Regions from separate parts of the Homo sapiens genome. Here all the other regions are linked to region 7. The links are contacts of gene promoters, found by promoter capture Hi-C in blood cells and fetal thymus (Javierre and others, 2016). All regions are on one chromosome and are shown on one strand. The core of a region is centred on a gene start or on the middle of the fragment in contact, and the rest is flanking DNA. Distances in the headings are between cores, read along the strand shown. Region 1 has its middle 71 kb from the start of VOPP1-DT. Region 2 overlaps VOPP1-DT (VOPP1 divergent transcript). Region 3 overlaps VOPP1 (VOPP1 WW domain binding protein). Region 4 overlaps VOPP1 (VOPP1 WW domain binding protein). Region 5 overlaps VOPP1 (VOPP1 WW domain binding protein). Region 6 overlaps VOPP1-DT (VOPP1 divergent transcript). Region 7 holds the start of SEC61G (SEC61 translocon subunit gamma).

Region 1 (2,700 bases), core at 35-2,534, 880 kb after region 7:
GATATTTCTAAGATGTTGCTGGAAAAATGAATTTGTAAATGTATTAATTTAGTGATTTCAAGTGTTTACCAATTGCAAATATATAATAAAATGTTTAAATATGTTTATTTAAAGAATACCTTTAAATAAACCTCTTAAAATCTTTGTTGTGAAGACTGTTCTTTTAGTAAGTGGATATGTGTGTGAGGTTGTAGACACTTACATTAAAGATAATTCTAATAATGTTATTTATTAGATGAGTTGGTTACTATGTTAACTCATTGAATGCAAGTGCTTACCACATTATAAAGTATGCAATAATGTGTTTAAACATGTTTTAAAAGATGCTTTTGTTATTCATTTTAAGAGCTTTGTAATGAAGAGTGTTATTTCAGTGAGTGGATGTAATACTATGTAGGGAATAGTTAGTAGACACATGGCTAAAAGATGATCTAAGTGTGTCATTGATAAAATGAGTTGGTGACTATGTTAATTCAGTGAATGCAAGTATTATCAAACTGGAATGTATGTAATAAAGTGTTTAAACATGGTTCTTTAAAGATTTTTCTTACCACGCATTTTATTTTATTTATATATATATTTTTTGAGATGGAGTCTCACTCTGCCACCCAGGCAGGAGTGCAATGGTGCAATCTTGGCTCACTTCAACTTCCTGTGCCCCCCAGGTTCAAGTGATTCTCCTGCCTCGGCCTCCCAAGTAGCCGGGACTACAGGTGGATGCCACCAGGCTCGGCTAATTTTCTTTGTACTTTTAGTAGAGACAGGGTTTCACCATATTGGCCAGGCTAGTCTCGAACTTCTGACCTCAGGTGATCTTCCCGCCTCAGCCTCCCCAAGTGCTGGGATTACAGGTGTGAGCCACCGCGCCCAGCCTCTTTCCATGCATTTTAAAAGCTTTGTTCTGAAAATTGTTACATCAGTGAGTGAACGTGGCTCACTGTAAAGTGTTTATAAGCACATGCTTAAAAGATGATTCTAAAAATGTTACTGATGAGTTGATAATAGTGTTAATTCAGTGAATGTAAGTATTAATTAAATGCAAGTGTTTACCAAATTGTAAAGTATGTAATGAAGTCCTTAAACATGCTTATTTATAGATTTTTTAAATTATGCATTTAAAAATCTTTCTTGTTAAGAGTGTTATGTTAGAGAGTACGTCTAATATTTCACTACATACACCTCACTAGGTTTGCAGGCACATGTTAAGAAGATAAAACGGATAATGTCACTTAAAATATATGTTGTTAACTGGATTAATTCCGGGAATTTAAGTGTTTAATAAGCTATCATACATGTGTAAAGTGTTTAAGCATTTTTTTTTTTTTTTTTTACACAGAGTCTCACTCTGTCACCCAGGCTGGAGTGGTGTGCGATCTCGGCTAGCTGTAGCCTCTGCCTTCTGGGTTCAAGCAATTCTCCTGCCTCAGCCTCCTATAGCTGGGACTATAGGTGCCCGCCACCACACCTCGCTAATTTTTGTATTTTCAGTAGAGATGGGGTTTCACCATGTTGGCCAGGCTGGTCTCAAATTTCTGACCTCAGGTGATCTGCCCCACCTCAGTCTCCCAAAATGTTGGGATTACAAGCGTGAGCCACCCTACCATGGCCAACCAAGCATATTTTTTTAAAGATGTTTCTTACCATTGCATTTTGGGTAAGAAACATTCTATGGCAAAAAGCTTTTATTTTAATGAGTGGATCTAACGTACGTAATGTATGTAGTGAAGTGTTTATATGATGAAAGATAAATCTAAGAATGCTACTTAAAAGATGTGTTGTTAACTGTATTAATTCAGTAAATTAAAGTGTTTACCAAGCTGTATAGTATACAATAATGTGTTTAAATATGCTTCTTTAAAGATATTTGTTACCAGAGAGGGTAATGTCAGCAAGTTGTTAGAATAGAAACTATCTCACTCTACTTACTTCCACAGAAATTCAACTAACAATTTTCCACAGTTTAGAGTATCTTTGTAAATATCCCAGAACTTGAGAGTGAATCTGAGACATCTTCTTGAACTACAGACCGAGAGAAGCCATGCATAAAGCGTAAGAGGAATGATTTCACTTTGACCAAGTTGCTCTTCTCCCAAAACTGCACAGTGCCACACACAGTGTTTTCCAGTAACCATGTTATTTTTTCAGAGGGAGAAAAAAATTGGAGGTGAATATTTAGCTTTCCTATTATTCTGGGGCCATTCACAGGAGATACCATCTTGTCTCACCTCATGGGACATATTGGAGGGTATCAGAGGAGCTGGTCCTACCCTAGCCTACGTGTTTTTCCAGCCCAGTACCATTTCATCTCACCAATACTCACACTGACCCCAGGACATCCTGAAGGCTCAGATCTAGCCTTTCTTCCTCTTTGCAAAAAGACCTTTCTCTACCCAGACATACAGGGACACCATTTTATACACCCACCTTAGGTGTTCTAAGGAAAAGCGCTTATCCTGATTGACATATCTGTGAAAAGTAAACAACTTTCCCAGTGGAAGGTGACAGAATTTGGGCTGCTCTGATTAAAATTATCTGGCTTAGTGCTTGCTACAGGTGTAGGGTCAGATAGAAATTGCAGGGAAAGATTACTGTTGCCGTTTCGGTTCCCTCCCCTGCCAGTAGGTGAAAAGCTAGCCCTATGGCCTGTAGTATAAATATAAGTGCATCTGTGTGTGTTTGGTGTGTGTGTTTGCATTATGT
Region 2 (2,881 bases), core at 135-2,634, 830 kb after region 7:
TGTCCATGGGGTTCAAGGGAAGGATGTTCCTGGTCTGAGGGGCTTCCCAGGAGAGAGAGGCCTCCTAGGCACTGCTGTGAGTGTGACTCCCAGAGCCCTGCCTGGACCAAGGACCAAGTGACCTGAACCCCTCCCTGACCCTGACCCTGCTCCATGCCACTCCCCACTCCCATCTCTCTGAACCTATCTCCTCTCGCCAGCCCTCACCCTTCTCTTTTCTGTGAAGCTCCACCTTCCCCAAATCTCTGCTTCAGAGTGTGGACCCAGCTTGAAGAGGAATGAGGTCCAGTTGGCCCCCTTACCCTGCAGGGAGCCTGGGGTTCCTGGGGAGTGGGAGGAGGGAACTAGGAAAGGGGGTGTTGAGGCAGGGTGGAGGTGGCATCCAGATCTACGCAGGTGCTGTGGGACTGGGCAGAGGGAATCTAGAGTCAGCCAGAATGCAGCTGATTTGGGGCTCTTCTCCTGGGAATTGTGCTCTGAGGGCCCTGGTATGAGTGGGCTTGGGTCTTCCTCCCTGGGGATCTCACTCATCTCAACTTTCAGGGTTCCCCCCTAGGGAGTGAGGTGCAGCAGGATCAAGGGACCCATTGCCCCCCGCCAGGGTGCCCAGGCCCTCAGGAACCCCCTGGATCAGCAGGAGAGACAGGTGTCCCAGTGAGAGTGGGGACCTTGGGAGTGGTTCTTGGGGAGGGGTCTGTGGGCTGAGGGGTGATGGGCTATGAAAGGTTTCCTGTGGGTGTTTGAGGGTGAGGGTCACCTCCAGGCCATGACTCCTCCTTCCTGCCCCACAGGGTGAAAAGGGCCCCATTTGTCTGCCTGGCTGTGATAGGGTGCAGAGTCCTGTGTGACTTCCTGGTCCTGCTGGGCCTCCAGGTGTGGCTGGAGAAGATGGAGACCAAGAGGAGAACCCCAGAGAACCCGACCAATCTTCTCTCCACATGAGAGGGCTGAGGTGGGCTTGACTCCTGAGCTCTATCATTTCCTCCCTCTGGTATCTCCTGTGCCTTCTCCTCCAGGATGAGGTGGGGGACCCCAGGAAGAAGGGCATCAAAGTGTCCATGACCTTGACGCCCTGGCCTTTAACCTCATTCCCTCCTGGTTCCTCCCTGCCTTGGTGTTTCTGACTCTCGTCTCTCCCCCAGGGCCCTCCTGGACCCCCTGGACTCACTGGTCCATGGAACAGCCTGTAGCAGTGGTGAGTGAACCCTCGGCCCCCACGCAAGGCCCTGGCAGCCTCTGCTCTGCCTTCAACTCCCCTTTGCCCCTGAGGCTGGGTTTGGGAGTGGGGTCTCTGGGCCTGGTACCCAGCTATGTATGGGGTTCGTGAATAGAGAATGCCTGACCCATGACCCATGTCTATGTCCTTGTCCCTGCTTCTCTCCTTCCCCAGGGAGCAGATTGGGAGCCCAGAGCTCAGGGACCCCAGGGACACTTTGGAGCCAGAGTGTGGGGAGCCAAAGGCAATAAAGGTAGAACAGGATTCATGAATCTATAGGTGAGATGCGGCTGGGGACGGGCTGAGAGGCAGTGTCAGGATGGGGTGATGTGTGTCCCAGACCCTGCCAGCAACATGCTTTAAGGACTGGGTTGGTGGGGGCAGAAGCCTGGGGGCCATGTGGGGTCTGAGTGGAGGGGCTGTGGGACCCATCAGTCTAGGGCTGTGCTTTGGGTGGGTGGTCACCTGGGTCCATGCTTTCTGCACCTGCATAGCGTGTGCCAGGTCCCTCTGGGGAGAAGGGAGAAACAGGAGATGTGGGTCCTATGGTGAATGTGACCCCTACTGACCCCAGACCCCAAATGGTCACCCCTGCCTGGCCAGCCCCCACCCCACTGCTGCCTCCCTGCCCTGACTGCTCTTCCTCCCTCCACACTCCTTCATTGTGCCATTTCACTTCCCTTCCCCACCTCTGGTGTATCTGTTCCCCTGCAGGGACTACCTGGACCCAGTGGCACTGGTGTGAGTCATCCCAGCCCCTGCCACTTCAGAGCAATGAGTCTGATCCTCTGCGTCCCTTTCCTCAGATCATAAACTCTTCGCCCCTGAGAAGCCCCTTCCCCTGGGAGGCCCCCACTGTCCCACTGCCATAACCTTGGGATGCTCATCTGGGCCTCTGCCCCTGCAATAACCCCACCTCCTGAAGCGATGTCACCTATTTCTCTTCCTCTTTCAGGGTCCACAAGATCCCCTGGGAGGTGTTGGGGCCCTGGGTCCCCCTGGAGAGAAGGTAATTGGGAAAGGGATGAAGGGGACCAGTCTTGTGGATGAGGAATGACAGTTGGATTTCTGCCAATTTTTTGTTGAGGAGACAAAAGAGAATAAAATGTGAGAAATACCAGGATTTTGTGAGGGGGCAATGAGGTTTTTGACCCCAATCTCTTTGCTCCTGGAGCCAGGAGAGTCAGGATCTCCAGGAATCCAGGGTGAGCCGGGTGTCAGGTGAGTGACAGCTCCAGGGCCCTGCTTCAGAATTCCCTTCACCCCTCTCAGCTGCACCCCCCCTCTTTTCCTGTGACTTCCTTGAGTTGTAGCTCCTCTGCGGCCAGGAGTCTCTGCTCCCAACCATCCTTGGAGTGAGGCTTTCCACCCTGTCCTTGAACGGAAGGGGACCAGGGGACTCCCCTTATAGGCTAGACTTTCTATGTGTATCCCATTGTCCTCAAGGGCAGTAGGGAGTGACTAAAGGTGTCTTGGAAGCAGGGGCTGCATCCCTGTTCTTCAAGACCCTCTGTGCCCTCCACTTGTTCTGCAGGGTACACATGGGGAGTGTGGGGGGAAAGGAGAGTCAGGGCAGCCAAGTTTCTGGGAATATGGGTATCTGTGAGTAAGGATCTTGGACTGTGGGGAGCCTGGGAATGGGGGGATGCCTGGGAGGGAGGCTCT
Region 3 (2,700 bases), core at 33-2,532, 750 kb after region 7:
CTCCCCAATCTGTCCTGCTCCTCCCTTGGCAGGACCCCCATTTCTACAGTTCTCACCATGTGCAATATTGTGGTTAACTGTTAGAGGCCTCTGTCTTCTACACCAGACATGACCTTGAGAGCAACCCCATCTCATTCCTCTATGCATAGTCCAGGTATCCACCTTGGTTTCAGAACCTTGTAAAGGTTTTGACTTAAACAGAAGGGATGTTGCAGCAGAAAGGGAAATCAGCAAAGATGGAAACAATATGAACTCAAAGCATACAAAGGAAACTGATTAAAATGTTAACACAGTGCTGGCGGGGACAGTTTGAAACAGGTGCTCCCAGGCAATGATAGCCTATTATCATGATGACCCTCAGGGAGAGCAGTCGGACGGTATTTAGTAGAATATAAGTATAAGCTTTGATTCAGCAATTCAATTTCTGCAAATTCACTCCATGTAATACAGCCAGCATTAAAATATATGAAACATCATACCAAACGGAACTTTTAAAGACTATAAATAGCCTCATGTCTGCTCAAATATGTTCTTGCTACCAAGTGAATTATTAAAAATTTGTTTAGGAGCACAGCTTAAAATTTTAGAATGTGAAAGAAAAATATCTTGAATCCCCAAATCACTAAGCTAAAAGGAAAATTCAAGCTGAAACTCCTCAGGGCAAACCTGCCTCCCATTCCATTCAAAGTCATCCTCTGCTCACTGAGATAGATGCATATTCTGATTGCCTCCTTTGGAAAGGCTTATCAGAAACTCAAAAGAATGCAACCACTTGTCCCTCACCTACCTGTGACCTGGAAGCCCTCTCCCTGCTTCCAGTTGTCCCTGCCTTTCCGGATGAACCAATGTACTTCTTACATATATTGATGATATCTCATGTCTGCCTAAAATATATAAAACCAAGCAGTGCCCCAACTGCCTTGGGCACGTGTTGTTAGGACTTCCTGGGGTTGTGACACTGGTGCACATCTTCAACCTTAGTAAAATAAACTTTCTAAATTAACTGACACCCGTCTCAGATTTACTGGGTTTATAAGAATTACAGACAAGGAACTGAGAACCTTCAATAGTTAAACAAAACAAAAACTCCTAAATATAGACACTACCTGTATAAATGAATGATGAGGCATCCCCAGGAAATATTCTGCTACTATCAAAAAGCATGAGGGGCTTTGTATACTGATTTAGAAGCATAGTCACAATGTACAGTTAAAAGGAATCAAGCTCAGCTGGGAGCAGTGGCTCACACCTGTATCGCAGCACTTTGGGAGGCCGAGGCAGGCGGATCACTTGAGGTCAGGAGTTCGAGACCAGCCTGGCCAACATGGTGAAGCCCCATCTCTACTAAAAATACAAAAATTAGCTAGGTGTCGTGGCACGTGCCTGTAATCCCAGCTACCCAGGAGGCTGAGACAGGAGAGTCGCCTGGACCTGGAAGGCGGAGGTTGCAGTGAGCCGAGATCGTGCCACTGCATTCCAGCCTGGGCAAGAGTGAGATTCCGTTTCAAAAAAAAAAGGAAAAGAAAAATAAATCAAGGTCACATTTTAGGGGTCTAAAGTTCTTAAGCAGAAGATCACCAGTGAAAATTTCTCCCTGTTATAGAGACGGTGTCTTCAACTTACACCAGGAATCTTCATTGATAAATCCAACAAGAACTGAGAGAAAAGAAATTCTGCTCTTGAATATCTGCCCCCTCCAGGCTGCAACCCGAAGGCTGTGCTCCATCTCCTGACGGCAAAATAGTGAGGGTCTGCAGCAGGCGTATGGAGCACTCAGCTAGGGAAGCGCCCCCGCCCCCATTGCCCTCTTCCACGCATCCTGGAAGGCCCCAGTGCTGCAGGAGAGCTCAGCGAAGGAGTCCAGCTGACTTCTGCACAGAGGGGCCTCCCCATCAGGCTCAGAGTCTGTCCACAGAGCCATAAAGGGCACCTGCTGGTGAGAGGTGACCTTGTGTCCAGGGAGCCTGGGACTGACTCTGGCACCTGCGCCCCTAGCAGGCAGGTAAAGTGGCCCAGCGGTGCTGGCTCTGCCAACCTTGTCTCTGGATCTTGATTTGACACCTGTGAACAGCACTTCATCCACTCACAGCATTAATTATTCACAGCAGAGAAATGAACCCAGAGGCAGCCAACAACACAGGGTAATATAAGCACTTTAAAAAGAAGCTTCACGCTCCAACAGGAAACTTGGGAATAGGGCCTGAAAGCAGCCTGGTCAAAATCGATAGTGCTGGCAGGAATGGGCTCTGCCTCCTGCTGGATAAGCCCTGGACCCTGGGCTCCTCCAGGACAGGCCCTGCCTCCCTCATCGCTAACTTCCCATCATCCCTACACACTGGCTCCCTCCCACTTGAGTGGTGCTCTGGAAATTACAGGTACTAGGTAAGCCATGACACTGATGATCGTATTCCTTAATTCTGTTTCATGGATCCTATCTTCCCCTTATCCAGCGGTTTGACAACATGCAGCCATCCATTTTTTCCCTTCCATGCTCTCCTTTGAGCTTGGCAGTGTGTGAATTCCCTATCGTCTCAGTGGAGTTGACTTCCGAGAAGCTTCCCCACATTCTTTCCTTCAGTGGTACCTAGATCTGAAGGAAAAACTAAAATAAGTGAGCAAACAGAACACCCAGAACCCAAATGCCCTGCAGCTCTGCCCCATCCATGTGACAGCCAGAGATGTGACCTAGTCATGCAAAAG
Region 4 (2,931 bases), core at 398-2,897, 790 kb after region 7:
GAACAAATTAAATACTCAATGTCAGGGGCACTCGCGAGTCCACCATTAGCCCTATCGCGAAGGATTATACAGCCGCTAACAGGCTGATGGGTAATTTTTAACGGAATGGAAATGCTCGTGACAGAAGGATGCACTATTGAGTATATGTTAACGACCAGTGTATGAAAATTGCGCAGAAAATGGCTGGAAGGAAAACATGACCTATTTTCGTGTCTGTATATTTTTCTACTTTCCAATTATTCCACAATTAGAATGCATTAGGCTTATTTTCATAATAAAGCAATTAAATTTTAGAGTCAGAGGCTACACTGGCTTGAAGGAATCAGGGCAGGCTTCCTGGAGAAGGCTGTATCTAAAATGAGAACTAAGAGACACACAGGACAGCCCGAGAAGAGGGAAGGGCATGGTGACAGGCGAAGGGGCACATGACAGCATGAAGACACTGAGTGCTCTGGTTGGGTTGGCAAATTATCTCCCTGTTATGCAGAGAAAACAACAAACCATGAGCCCTACCATCCCGCAGACATAACTTCCCTCATCAGCCATAGCATTCTTCCAGACTTCTCTACAGCAAGGCACTCCAGGCTGTCGCTACCAAGAAGACAAGCAAGGCTTCATGTGAAATAAACCTATTTGCCATGCTTGCTGCTGTTTCATCACTCCTAGAGTCAATGGAAGTTTTCACTGACATCAAAGCAATGTCCTGGAATGTTAGGGCGTGGAGCACCAGAACCCCACGTGCACACCGTACACCTGTGCTGGCAAATACGTCCAGCAGGGCTGAAACAGCACAAAATGCTTTCCCTTCAAAATCGGGTTCTGAGTGCTCCCCAAAGCATGCCTCGAAAGTCAATTCTCCCATCAGACGCAAATAATTAAATGCACAAACACTTGGTGTTTCTTTCCCTCAGGAAATCTGTCAATAAGCTCTGGTCTAGTTTTTCCATTTCTAGAAATGGAAAAGGTCACCTTGTTTTTCCCCCTTCCCTTAGGAAAAAGGGAAAGAAACTCCAAGTGGGGAAGGGTTCAACACGGTCAGGGCTGAGGTGGAGGAAGAGGGCCTCTCTTTCATCTTACACGCAGTGGGAGGGAAAGCAGAAAAAATCTGAAGGAGGAAATTATCAAATACAAAATACATGTTGAAGGCTGGGCGGGGTGGCTCACGCCTGTAATCCCAGCACTTTGGGAGGCCCAGGAGCGTGGATCACTTGAGATCAGCAGTTTGAGACCAGCCGGGCCAACATGGTGAATCCCCGTCTCTACTAAAAATACAAAAATTAGCCACACATGGTGGCGCATGCCTATAGTTGCAGCTACTTGGGGGTCTGAGGCATGAGAATCGCTTGAACCTAGGAGGCAGAGGTTGCAGTGACCCTGCAGCCTGGGCAACAAGAGTGAGACTGTGTCCAAAAAAAAAAAAAAAAAAAAAAAAAAGGTGTTGACAAGGTGTGGAGGTGGAGGGAAAGCCCTGGGAGCCAGGTTAGCCAGGTCAGGGACCAGTGACCCTGTGGAAAAGGAAGCAGTGGGCCTACAAGGGTTGAGGTCTGTGCCTCTGCTAGTTATTAACATGCACTGCATGGGCAAGGCAGTCCACTGAGGGACTGGGTAAGATGGACAAATATAAGCACCTTTTGGATTTAGAAATAGCAATGACAGAAAGAAGGTAATTTAGCTGATTTTAAAACCTCCGTACAAAATGCCTCTCCTCCCAAGAAGCTCAGACTATCGCAAAATGCTGTTCTCTTCATAGGAATGGGGTGGGAAATAGTTTCCCATTTCTGTCTTAAATCAAATGGCTGCCTCTATCAGAAAGCAGATGACACATATTAAGGATGCCAGCTACCCCTTATTAGACACCCATTATTTTTCAGACCTACACACTCACACAGGATGGATCTCCATGCTTACACATGCCCAGCAACACAAGCATGATTTTCCCAGGGTGACAAATGAAGTCTAGGAAAACGCTAAGTGATTGATGCCTCAAAAGAAAGTGCTGGAACCAGGTCTGTGTGGCTCCAAAGTTGCCCTTTTCCTACCATATGACACCGCCTTCCAACAATGGGGGGCACTCAGGTCCTGGAGCCCCAGCCCCTCCGAAGGCAGGAGTCTGGTCGCCAGGTTGCCGGCACACGGAGTTCACGCAGAGAGGCAGCAAGTGGAGCCTGTTCTCCTAGGAAACCTCCCATGGGCTGAGTCACTCAGCCATGCTCAACCCAGAAAGGTGACGGAGCACTATGGCAACACAACAGGATTTCCTCCTAGACTAAACTCCTGAACCCGAAGAAAAAATTATACGTGCTGCTAGCTGCAAATTGCTGACAAATGCTAAGGCGCTGTAGGAAAAGACATGCAACCGAAATCTGTCTGCTGCACCATTCCAATCAAAGTCAGGTGGGAGCTTTTTGTCTGAGTTTCAGTGTTATTGCTACAGCAAAAATGACAAATGCTTGACAATATAATTATGACTGTCAATCTTCCTAAAATAAACTTGGAAACATTCAAAGAGTAACAGTATAGGCAGACAAGTTAATTATATCTCATAATCTCATTTCCAATATATGTGTTGCCCTAGCAGGAGGCATTGTTGGAAAGGAGCTGCAGTTCCTCTGTTATACAGGCTATTTTTATATTTTAGATTCATATTTTAGTTCCAACACCTAACAGGATTTTATTGGGGAGAAATTTTCATTTCTACTTTTGCAGTACTTGGGAGGAGTCACCAGTAAAAACCTCTTTAAGGGGACTGCTTCCCAGAGTGAGGAAAATAAAAAGACTAGCCTGGGGAGCAACGGGCTGTTTTCCCATGTTGCAGACCCAAAGGTCACTAGGCTTGGCTGTAAACTCCAATTCATTTACCATAAAATAAATATTATTTAGATGATAGATCTAGGCCTAACATTTCTGGTTTTCATTTAAATATATCCCTTA
Region 5 (2,810 bases), core at 47-2,546, 730 kb after region 7:
TTGCAGGCCTGCAAGAAGTATAAAATGAAAAACGGATGGCAAACCAAGTCTACATTTTGGTCAGAGAAGATGCGCTGGGACCAGCAGCCACTCGCTGTAGAGAGCTGGGGGCTTACTTATTCTTAATCCAAATGGCTCTTCCGTGGGAAGCCTTCCTGGAGTTGTGCACCAGATGGAGTCTCCTACTTACATGGTTTCCTAGCATTCTCAACTTTCTCTCCCTCGCACTCATGATGGTCAGTCACTATAGAGTTGTTTGCGTGAAAGCTCACACGGGTGCTGGAGCTGTGCATGCAGCGGTGACTGAGGGCAGGTGTCCAGGCTGTGCAGTGTTTTGAGCTCCTGCAGGCGCCTCAGCAGGTGTGCAGTAAATATGGGCCAAGACAGCAATTCAGGCAGGTCTGCGCTCCAGGCTGTGACTGTAGTTGTGATGTATTCCGACCCTGGTTTACCAGGCTGCAAACCTGGGAGCTCCCACAGTTCATCCAGCCTGAGGATGAGGGCCGGGCATCTACTTGGTGCCTGAGACCATGAGTCCTGTACACAGCCCCGTGGGGAGCCCAGTGTAAACATGGAGCATTAAAGCTGGTAAAGCCCCTGGCAGGGGACCCAGGGAGAAAGTGGAGATGTGAAGCAGCCAGAGACAACTTCACTATGGGTACAACACAGAGCAGCACCTTGGAGGAAGGCATTTTCCAGGCAGAAGGAGGGCGTGTGCAGGCCTCAGTGCGATGCAGGACTAGAGAGAGGAGGTCGCTCAAACTGGACACAGAGGAGCGGGGATGGGTCTGAGGAAGCTGTGAATGCGTCCTCAGTCCTCAGCTAGGGACTGTGGACTTACACTGTGAGCCAGGTGAGCTGGCAGAGACCCTGCCGCAGAAAAATAGCACGGCCGATGTGCTTCTGTTTTTTGTTTTTTAAGACCCTTCTGATAGCCAAGTGGAAGACAGAGGAGCTGGTGGAGACCAGTGGCCAGCAGGCACTGCTCCAGGGTGAGATAAGGGATGTGGCAGATCTAATCGCCTGGTTGCTGGGGATTCTCCCAGACAGATGGAGCGGGGTTAGGTGGGGTGTGGGGCTGTGCAGAACAGAGGGATGGGACCAGAAAGGAGTGCACATAGGGATGCATTCTCTTCTCAAAACCCTGGCATGCCAGGGTTCAAAAGAATTATGCAGCTGCAGGCACAGTCTCAGCACCTCACCTACTCACCACAAGAGCCCCAGTTCACATGAGTGGTAGACTCTGAGCTCGGCCAGGACCACGGACCAGGGACATGTGGCCTTCTGCACTGGGGGCAGTGGGGCCTCCCATGCCAAGTGGGGCAGGGGCTGCTCCTCCCTGTACTAAAACCTCTCTGACTGATCCAGATGAGACCCAGTGAGTGGCGGCTTTCATCTCTCATTTTAACAGAAATTTTGCACTTTACCCTATGATGCAGCACAAATCTGAAACGATTCAAATATTTCCAAATATCAAAGGCTAAAATCCACTTACGGATTCAAAATGGTACTAACCTGACTGTAAGTTTAAGGCACAGCTCTCAGTGAACTGCTGTGGAAAATATATATTTTTCTGAGCAACATTTTTTAAAATAAAGAAAATTCTTTCTGAAAGGAAAACCCTGTGGAGTATCTGGTGGAAAAAAGCTGTAAAAGAACAAATATGCAAATGACTTTGCATCTTGATAACAGCCTGTTCTCAGGAAAACAGAAGAGAGAAGATAATTTTCTCCTATTACATTCAATCCCTCTACTTCTCTCCTATTTAAAAACCACTTTATTGAGGTCTGACTGACAGGCAAAAAGCTGTGCATGTTTAAGACCTACAACCTGATGAGTTTAAAGACAGGGGCACATCCAGAAAACCATAGCCATGCTCTATTCCATAAACATCTCTATTACCTACAAAAGTTTTCTCTGCTCTTCTTGTTATTTTTGTGTGATAAGAACATATATTAACATAAGACCTACCCTCTTAGCAAAATTTTAATTATACATTACAGTTGTATTAATTGTAGGTCCTACACTGTACAATAGATCTCTAGGACTTATTCATTTTTCTTAACTGAAACTTTGTAAAAGCGAAGGCATCCACTGCTCCTAGAACTGACCACCTATCCACAGTGTGCAATCAATAGACAGTCCCATCCCCAGGCTCCCAGGTGGAAACTGTGGCTGGGAGCATGGCGGTGCAGACATCAGCAACACCCCTCTGCCCAGCCTCACTCTACACCTGGCCAGAAGACCAGCGCTCTGATGAGCCGAGCCAGCCCAGCCCTCCAGGACCCTTGGCTCCCCGCTGTCATCAGAGAGCTCCCTGGCCTGTGTCCTAAGGAAGTCCACACCACCCACCACAGTATGTAGGAGTTTTAGATGGCTAAGGCAATGTTTTACAAGAATTAAGAAACAGCTAATTCATTTTGACCCTGGGATGTCACTTTGGGTGTTATGCACTAAACAGACTACATGTGACCTGTACAAGAATGTCTATTGCTATGGTCTTTGTAAGTATTTGGAATACTAGTAACTGCACAATGAATACTTGTTGAATGCATGAATAAAAGACAAAACATGAGAAAACAAAACAAATTATCAGCAATAATAAAATATCTAAGCAAATTACCATTTAGTAACATAATTAGTATCTAGTCCAGAAGCACTAAAAATGGCAGGGGTATTACCGCTCCTACACAGAAATTTATATGTGAAATAATGTTTAAGGAAAAGGGCAGAGAGCAAATAATACGCTTATACAAACTGCATCATATCACGTGCATATGTGGCACACTGATAACTGTAAGAATATGAGG
Region 6 (2,787 bases), core at 221-2,720, 820 kb after region 7:
ACCGCAACCGGCCCCGCCTTGCAGGCCACCCTCCCGCAGCAGAAAACTGTGCGGAGCTCGCGCTGTCCTCGCCTCCGCTGACCCCACCTCCATGTCCTCACAGACACTATTTTTTCACAACACAGCTCAGATCCCACCTTCTTCATGAGGTTATTCAACAAACACTATTAAACTTGTAAGATGTACCAGATCCTGAGTTGGAGGCTGAGAGGAGGACAAGAAAACTGCTCCCGTAGCCTAGAGGGAGGGAGAGTCGCTTAAACCACCTGATGCAGAATGCTGAGTGCGGAGACCAGGAGGTGGGTGCATCACAGAGGGTCATAAAGGACATGAGCTGCGCAGTACAGGAGGTGGAAGGAGGGGGTCACACGAACAGATGTCACCCGAGGCAAGTCCCCAACTCTTTCCCAGCTTTCAAAGCCTAATTTGATTAATATAGAGCATGCACCACCTGACTATACCTGTCAGAGCCAGAACTTACAAGTAAGACAGAAACAATGCCTATGGCCTTCAGTCATGCTAAGGCACCTATCTGACAAGCCTGCCAAACGCCATTGAACTCTAGTAGTTTTACTATTTACAATGAGGACATTTTACAACTCTTTTTAATGGAAAAGTTAACTTGTAGAAAACTAAGCTGAAAGCTTATTGTGTGTTAGCAAGACAAATGTTTTTCCAGTGGGGATAGAAGTGATCTCGTCCTGTAAAAATGCAAATGGGCCAGGCAGGGTGGCTCATGCCTATCATCCCAGCAGTCTGGGAAGCTGAGGTGTGAGAATTGCTTGAGCCCAGGAGTTCACCAACCCCAACCTGGGCAACACAGCAAGAACCTGTCTCCATTAAAACGTGTGTGTGTGTGTGTGTGTGTGTGTGTATAAGACAAATGACCCCTGCTTAAGGTGAGAATCATAACCAGCTTCCTATCTGATTGAGCCACTTCATTCCCAGCGTTTCCTTTCTCTTTTCTCCCCGCTTTTGACTGTGTGTGTAGGTCACTTGCCTGCATTCTCCTTTGAAGCACCTTTGTCATCCCACTGTTTCCATCATTAATGGGTTAAAATGGAACTTTGACTTGTGTCCACGATGTATTCGTGTGCAAATTGTGGTTCTGTTGCATTGTGAGCAACCTACTAGTGTCTGACATAACCTCCCTTCTGCATCTCTCTCTGCCTGGAAGATTGTTTTGCTGAGCTCGACTTCCTGTAATTTGTGCAAGTTTTTTTCCAAGAATAAAATTAGAACTGTGACTCTGCTTTCACCTCAGTCTGATACCTCTCCTGTGTGCTCTCTGTTTGGTCCTGAATGATGTGGTGGTTGCTTGGCATGGTTGGAGGATGGGGTGTAGGCTAACCAGCCAGGCTGTTTCCTTGAGCACAAATTATAAGGGCATCAGATACCACTGAAAAAGTTACAAGATAAAGCTGCATTCACTAGAACAACTGTTAAAGTTGGACTTGGGGTTAGAAGAAAGTTCTTGATGAGTTGTTTGGGGCAGGACTGGACATGTCCTGGTCTGCTCAGCTGCCCCTGAGGAGTAAGGACCCAGAGCCTGGAGCATGTGTGTTGCCAAAGGAAACAAATAAGAGAGAGACTGGGCTTGACCTGTAGCTTCCCTGCAAAACTGTGGAGTCTACATGAATGATGAACATGTATTTCATTTATTCAATAAATATTTATCTGCATCTGTTTTGGGCCAGGCACTATTCTGGACATTTCGGATACAGCCCTGAGTAAAATAGACAAAGCAGTGGCATAAAAGGCAGAGTGGCTGCTGTCATGCAGATTTCAATCTAGTGAGGGGTAACAGAGAATAGAATAAATAAATAAATATGTATATAAGTGCCAGAAAGAAAAATAAATTGAGTGAAACATTTGGAAGGTAAGACTGAGTGTAATTAAAAATACAAGGGTCGGCCGGACACAGTGGCTCATGCCTGTAATCCCAGTACTTTGGGAGGCCGAGGAGGGCAGATCACCTGAGGTCGGGAGGTCGAGACCAGCCTGACCAACATGGAGAAACCCTGTCTCTACTAAAAATACAAAATTAGCCGGGCATGGTAGTGCATATGTCTGTAATTCCAGCTACTCGGGAGGCTGAGGCAGGAGAATCGTTTGAACCCGGGAGGCAGAGGTTTTGGTGAGCCGAGATCGCACCATTGCACCCCAGCCTGGGCAACAAGAGCTAAACTCCGTCTCAAAAAAAAAAAAAAATAGGAGGGCCAGGCCAGGCCCCTATGGCAAATTGCCAGGAGCAGAGACCCAAAGGTAGGAAAGGGGGCAAAACAAGACTATTAATCAAAGCTTTGAGGCAGGAAAAACGGGCCTGAGGAATTTCCTGACAGGATCGGTGAGGCTGGAGCTCTGTGCTCCCTTAGCAGGGGTAGAATCTGAATTCAAAGAAGAAATGGACGCTCAGATTTGTAGTCCATTATAAGGATCTTGGATTTAGTTCTGAAAGAAATGGGATATCATTTGAGGATTTTGAGCTGAAAAGTAATGTAATCTGGCTTAAGCCTTCAAAGCATCAGCCCTAGTGCTGTGTAGAAAACAGACTAGGGCAGGGTTGGGAAGGGTGGAGGGAAGGGTGGAGGCTGGAAGAGCAGTGAGGAGATGGATGTGATGTTGATACCAGTGGGCTAGGGGAGGTCCCCCAAATGCCAAGGGGATCTTGACCTCCGCCGGTGTCCAGCCTCTTGACACCATCACAAGAAGGAATTCAAGGATGAGTCGAAAATAGTGAAAGTATGATTTATTGCAAAGCAAAAAGCACTCAAGAAAGCGATTGCT
Region 7 (2,908 bases), core at 360-2,859:
AAACAAAAAAGATACTCACTGGTATTGGTTCTCATACAATAAGCACTTGCTCATTTATATAAAGATGTAAATGAGACCAGCCACTGAATTCACGTCTAACATGGGTCAATTCCACCTCCTAAAATAAAACAAAAAACAAACTCCAAAGCCTAAATTGATATTATTTTTGGAAATTTCAGTTAATTATCAAAGGCAATAAGAAAAGCACAGATCTTACTCATGATATCTTCACTGACAAAGAACAGCACACGCAATATAAAAAGCCTATCTCTATTAAAAGGTTAAAAAAGGTTACGCAATTGGTAACACATCCATTCCTTTTCTCACTCTGCAGTCCCATCCATTTCTCATTCTACAGTCCCCTCACCGCTCCTAAGGAACCATCAGTGTTGAGATCCAACAATTACTTTCCATATTTTATTTTAAACTACGCAGAAGCCAGTGTCTTGTACAGTGAATGCCAACTACGGTGCTGCAAGAGCCTAGAATAGAGGCAAACGTGAATTTCAACCTTGATTTTTCTAAAACGTGCCAATACAACATACTTTTCTAAAGTATAAAGAATGGCTAAAGGAAGACGCAAATTCTGAGAAGCTACTAGCTAAATTTCAAACTTTTCGATTTGAACACATCTTTTAAGGAAACAGGGCTATATATTTTACCATACAGGTTCTTTTGAGGAATCTATTACCCAATAGAAATGTTATCCGATCTTAGCTTTGAGAGCCACTGCTATAGTAAGTAAAGCAGCCAGGGTGTTATTTGTATTTTCCTCCATTTCCAGTACTCAGAACAGTGGCCAGGTGGTAGTTCAAATCACTGGCTATGGAATGTAAACCTCTGTAAGCCCCAGTTGCCTTCCTTAGTGTAGGGTGTGGACAACGAAATGAAATAATGTCAATGAAACACCAGGAATTCTGCAACGTTCTGGGGGCAAAAACACAGTAATGTCTGTTTTCTCAGTATTTCACTCAACTTTGCTCTTGAAATCCAAAGGGCTTAAACTTTTTGTAATCATAGTTGTCACGAAGGAAGCTAAGAATTCTTTATCCAGAAAAACGCACGCTACACACAATACCGCACTCAATGTCAGGGGTAGAGATCCAAAAACCAACTATGATCTCTCGAACTAGACTCTAGACCAATGCTCTCACTTTAAACCACGGAAGCGGCGGCAGGACCAGAGCTGAGTACAGCTCTTCCCAGACAGGACTCCACAACAGCACACAGAGCCAACCCCGAAGGGATCGGGCAGCAGGACATCATCTTTGGCTGCAGCACAGAAGACGCCGGGGCAGGACGCTAAGCCCTGGAGCCCCGCGGGCCGGCCACCCAGCTCGCCGGGAGTCCGCGGCCCTGGGTCTGCCTTCCGCCAGAGGCCGAGTTGGTGGGATGTCGGCGGCCAGACCCCGGCCCTGAGCCAGGGGACCACTTACCGCCCGCCCCGCGACGGCCGCCCGGGGAGACACGCCGGCTCGCCCACGCCCGCTGCCCCCAAGAGTCGCAAAGGTGTGGCCGCCCCGTTCGCCCGTACCGACCGGTGGGAAGAAACTCACCTACCCAACCGACACCTAAAATGCCAGGGACACGTAGCACTGGAGCTTGCTGATGGAGGCCCACCGGAACCGGAATCCGGGTTTCTGCCAACAGCCCGCCCACTCCTCCGTCCTATTGGTTCCTTACGCGAAACCTCAGTGCGCAAGCGCAGCGCGACGTGCGCCCGGCCACGCTTCCTGGAAGAGATGCATTGCGGAGCTCGCTAGTTGGGGCGTTGGCCTTCCTTAGGAGTGTGAGTCTAGCGTTATCCCTTTTTTCCGGCTGGATCCCGGGTTACCCCACCAGCCCGACCTCAACCCACTCACGTCCACAGCACGAGCCCCAGCGGCCTTGCGCGGTGCTTGCTCTCTAGTAGCGGCTGACTAGGTAAATCCTAAGTTGTGGTTTTTTTTCCTGCGGTCCAGCTTGATGTGTGTCCTTACGGTACATACTTTTTGTATGTATATAATGTTGGTCGAAATGAAGCTTATGAGCAATATAATGTTATGGCCTAATTCAAAATAGTATCCCCACCCCAAACTTTGACTTTGGCTGTCATTCACGGTAATGAATGCCGCTGTAATTGAGGCCTTTGTCAAACGCTAGGTTTGGTTACGGGAGTGGTCATAATGTACACACAGCTCCCCACTTACCCACAAGGATGCATTCCAGGAACCCCCCGCCGGATGGCTGAAACCGTCAGTAGAGACGGGGTTTCACCATATTGGCCAGGCTGGTCTTGAACTCCTGACCTCGCGATCCACCCGCCTCGGCCTCCCAAAGTGCTGGGATTACAGACGTGAGCCACCGCGCCCGGCCATGTTTCCTTTTAGCAATGGAGCATAACGGGATCTGAGGAACAATATAACTCAGGAAGAGCTGATGGAACATTAAGACGTGTTACAACTCTCAGTGCTTCTTAAACTTCTTCAGTAACTGAAATCTCCTGTTAAGTTTTTTAGTAAATGAAATTTGTAACCCCAGAACCTCCAGATATTGATTCAGTGGGTCAGGGTTAGAGGTCACACACCTCCGTATATCTGACTGTAGGTGGTCCATACACACTACACATACCTTGCCTTAGCTTTAAGAGTCACTTTTAAATTCTGAACAGACTGAGATGCGTTTGACTAGTTCTTCATCCCTGGGACTTCAGCCCATGTGTCATCTCCTTAGAGGCCTATAGTGACCATCTAAGGCAATCCTGTCTATCTCATGCTCTTTTTTCCTTTTTCACAATACCTTCTTCATTTGCTGCATAGCATTTGTATTAACATTTATTTATTTATTCCTCGGTCTGTCTCCCTACACTGTAAATCCCCTTACTAGACCATAAGCTCCAAGTGGGTATAATATAGCATCTAGTAAAGTG

Evidence for each region. Contacts are between HindIII fragments. The CHiCAGO score rates a contact against its expected background, and 5 or more counts as called.
Region 1: a fragment that was not itself captured here is called in contact with the fragment with the promoter of SEC61G in region 7 in 2 of 17 cell types (non-activated CD4 T cells and fetal thymus); the score reaches 5.8 in non-activated CD4 T cells.
Region 2: a contact is called between a fragment that was not itself captured here and the fragment with the promoter of SEC61G in region 7, in 11 of 17 cell types (naive CD4 T cells, fetal thymus, total CD4 T cells and 8 more). The highest score is 13.3, in naive CD4 T cells.
Region 3: a fragment that was not itself captured here is called in contact with the fragment with the promoter of SEC61G in region 7 in 5 of 17 cell types (monocytes, naive CD8 T cells, total B cells and 2 more); the score reaches 7.7 in monocytes.
Region 4: a fragment that was not itself captured here is called in contact with the fragment with the promoter of SEC61G in region 7 in 3 of 17 cell types (monocytes, total B cells and fetal thymus); the score reaches 8.1 in monocytes.
Region 5: a contact is called between a fragment that was not itself captured here and the fragment with the promoter of SEC61G in region 7, in 2 of 17 cell types (non-activated CD4 T cells and naive CD8 T cells). The highest score is 5.4, in non-activated CD4 T cells.
Region 6: a fragment that was not itself captured here is called in contact with the fragment with the promoter of SEC61G in region 7 in 12 of 17 cell types (non-activated CD4 T cells, total CD8 T cells, activated CD4 T cells and 9 more); the score reaches 14.3 in non-activated CD4 T cells.

What each region holds. Positions count from the first base shown.
Region 1 is chr7:55,642,128-55,644,827 of GRCh38, forward strand. No RefSeq gene overlaps it. Among named protein-coding and RNA genes, the nearest start is that of VOPP1-DT, 71 kb to the left of the region's middle. The HindIII fragment of the contact is 785 bases long and covers 893-1,677 here.
Region 2 is chr7:55,589,513-55,592,393 of GRCh38, forward strand. VOPP1-DT (VOPP1 divergent transcript) reads left to right here. Exons shown (of 17, transcript NR_187585.1): 7 at 1-646; 8 at 792-952; 9 at 1,143-1,195; 10 at 1,391-1,469; 11 at 1,931-1,957; 12 at 2,172-2,225; 13 at 2,395-2,437. Among named protein-coding and RNA genes, the nearest start is that of VOPP1-DT, 18 kb to the left of the region's middle. The HindIII fragment of the contact is 8,588 bases long and covers 1-2,881 here.
Region 3 is chr7:55,510,918-55,513,617 of GRCh38, forward strand. All of the region lies in intron 2 of VOPP1 (VOPP1 WW domain binding protein), which reads right to left. Among named protein-coding and RNA genes, the nearest start is that of VOPP1, 60 kb to the right of the region's middle. RefSeq lists enhancers at 141-190, 854-1,003, 1,345-1,866, 1,867-2,388. The HindIII fragment of the contact is 1,764 bases long and covers 401-2,164 here.
Region 4 is chr7:55,550,614-55,553,544 of GRCh38, forward strand. The region is part of intron 1 of VOPP1 (VOPP1 WW domain binding protein); the gene reads right to left. Among named protein-coding and RNA genes, the nearest start is that of VOPP1, 20 kb to the right of the region's middle. The HindIII fragment of the contact is 3,615 bases long and covers 1-2,931 here.
Region 5 is chr7:55,489,278-55,492,087 of GRCh38, forward strand. The region is part of intron 4 of VOPP1 (VOPP1 WW domain binding protein); the gene reads right to left. Among named protein-coding and RNA genes, the nearest start is that of VOPP1, 82 kb to the right of the region's middle. The HindIII fragment of the contact is 8,751 bases long and covers 1-2,810 here.
Region 6 is chr7:55,573,019-55,575,805 of GRCh38, forward strand. It overlaps VOPP1-DT (VOPP1 divergent transcript), which reads left to right. Exons shown (of 17, transcript NR_187585.1): 1 at 1-299. Among named protein-coding and RNA genes, the nearest start is that of VOPP1-DT, 1.6 kb to the left of the region's middle. RefSeq lists enhancers at 867-946, 1,277-1,416. The HindIII fragment of the contact is 1,657 bases long and covers 643-2,299 here.
Region 7 is chr7:54,757,602-54,760,509 of GRCh38, forward strand. It overlaps SEC61G (SEC61 translocon subunit gamma), which reads right to left and starts at 1,610. Exons shown (of 4, transcript NM_014302.4): 1 at 1,557-1,610. SEC61G-DT (SEC61G divergent transcript) reads left to right here and starts at 1,712. Exons shown (of 3, transcript NR_110040.1): 1 at 1,712-1,923. RefSeq lists a silencer at 1,260-1,579 and an enhancer at 1,813-2,748. The HindIII fragment of the contact is 2,422 bases long and covers 1-2,020 here.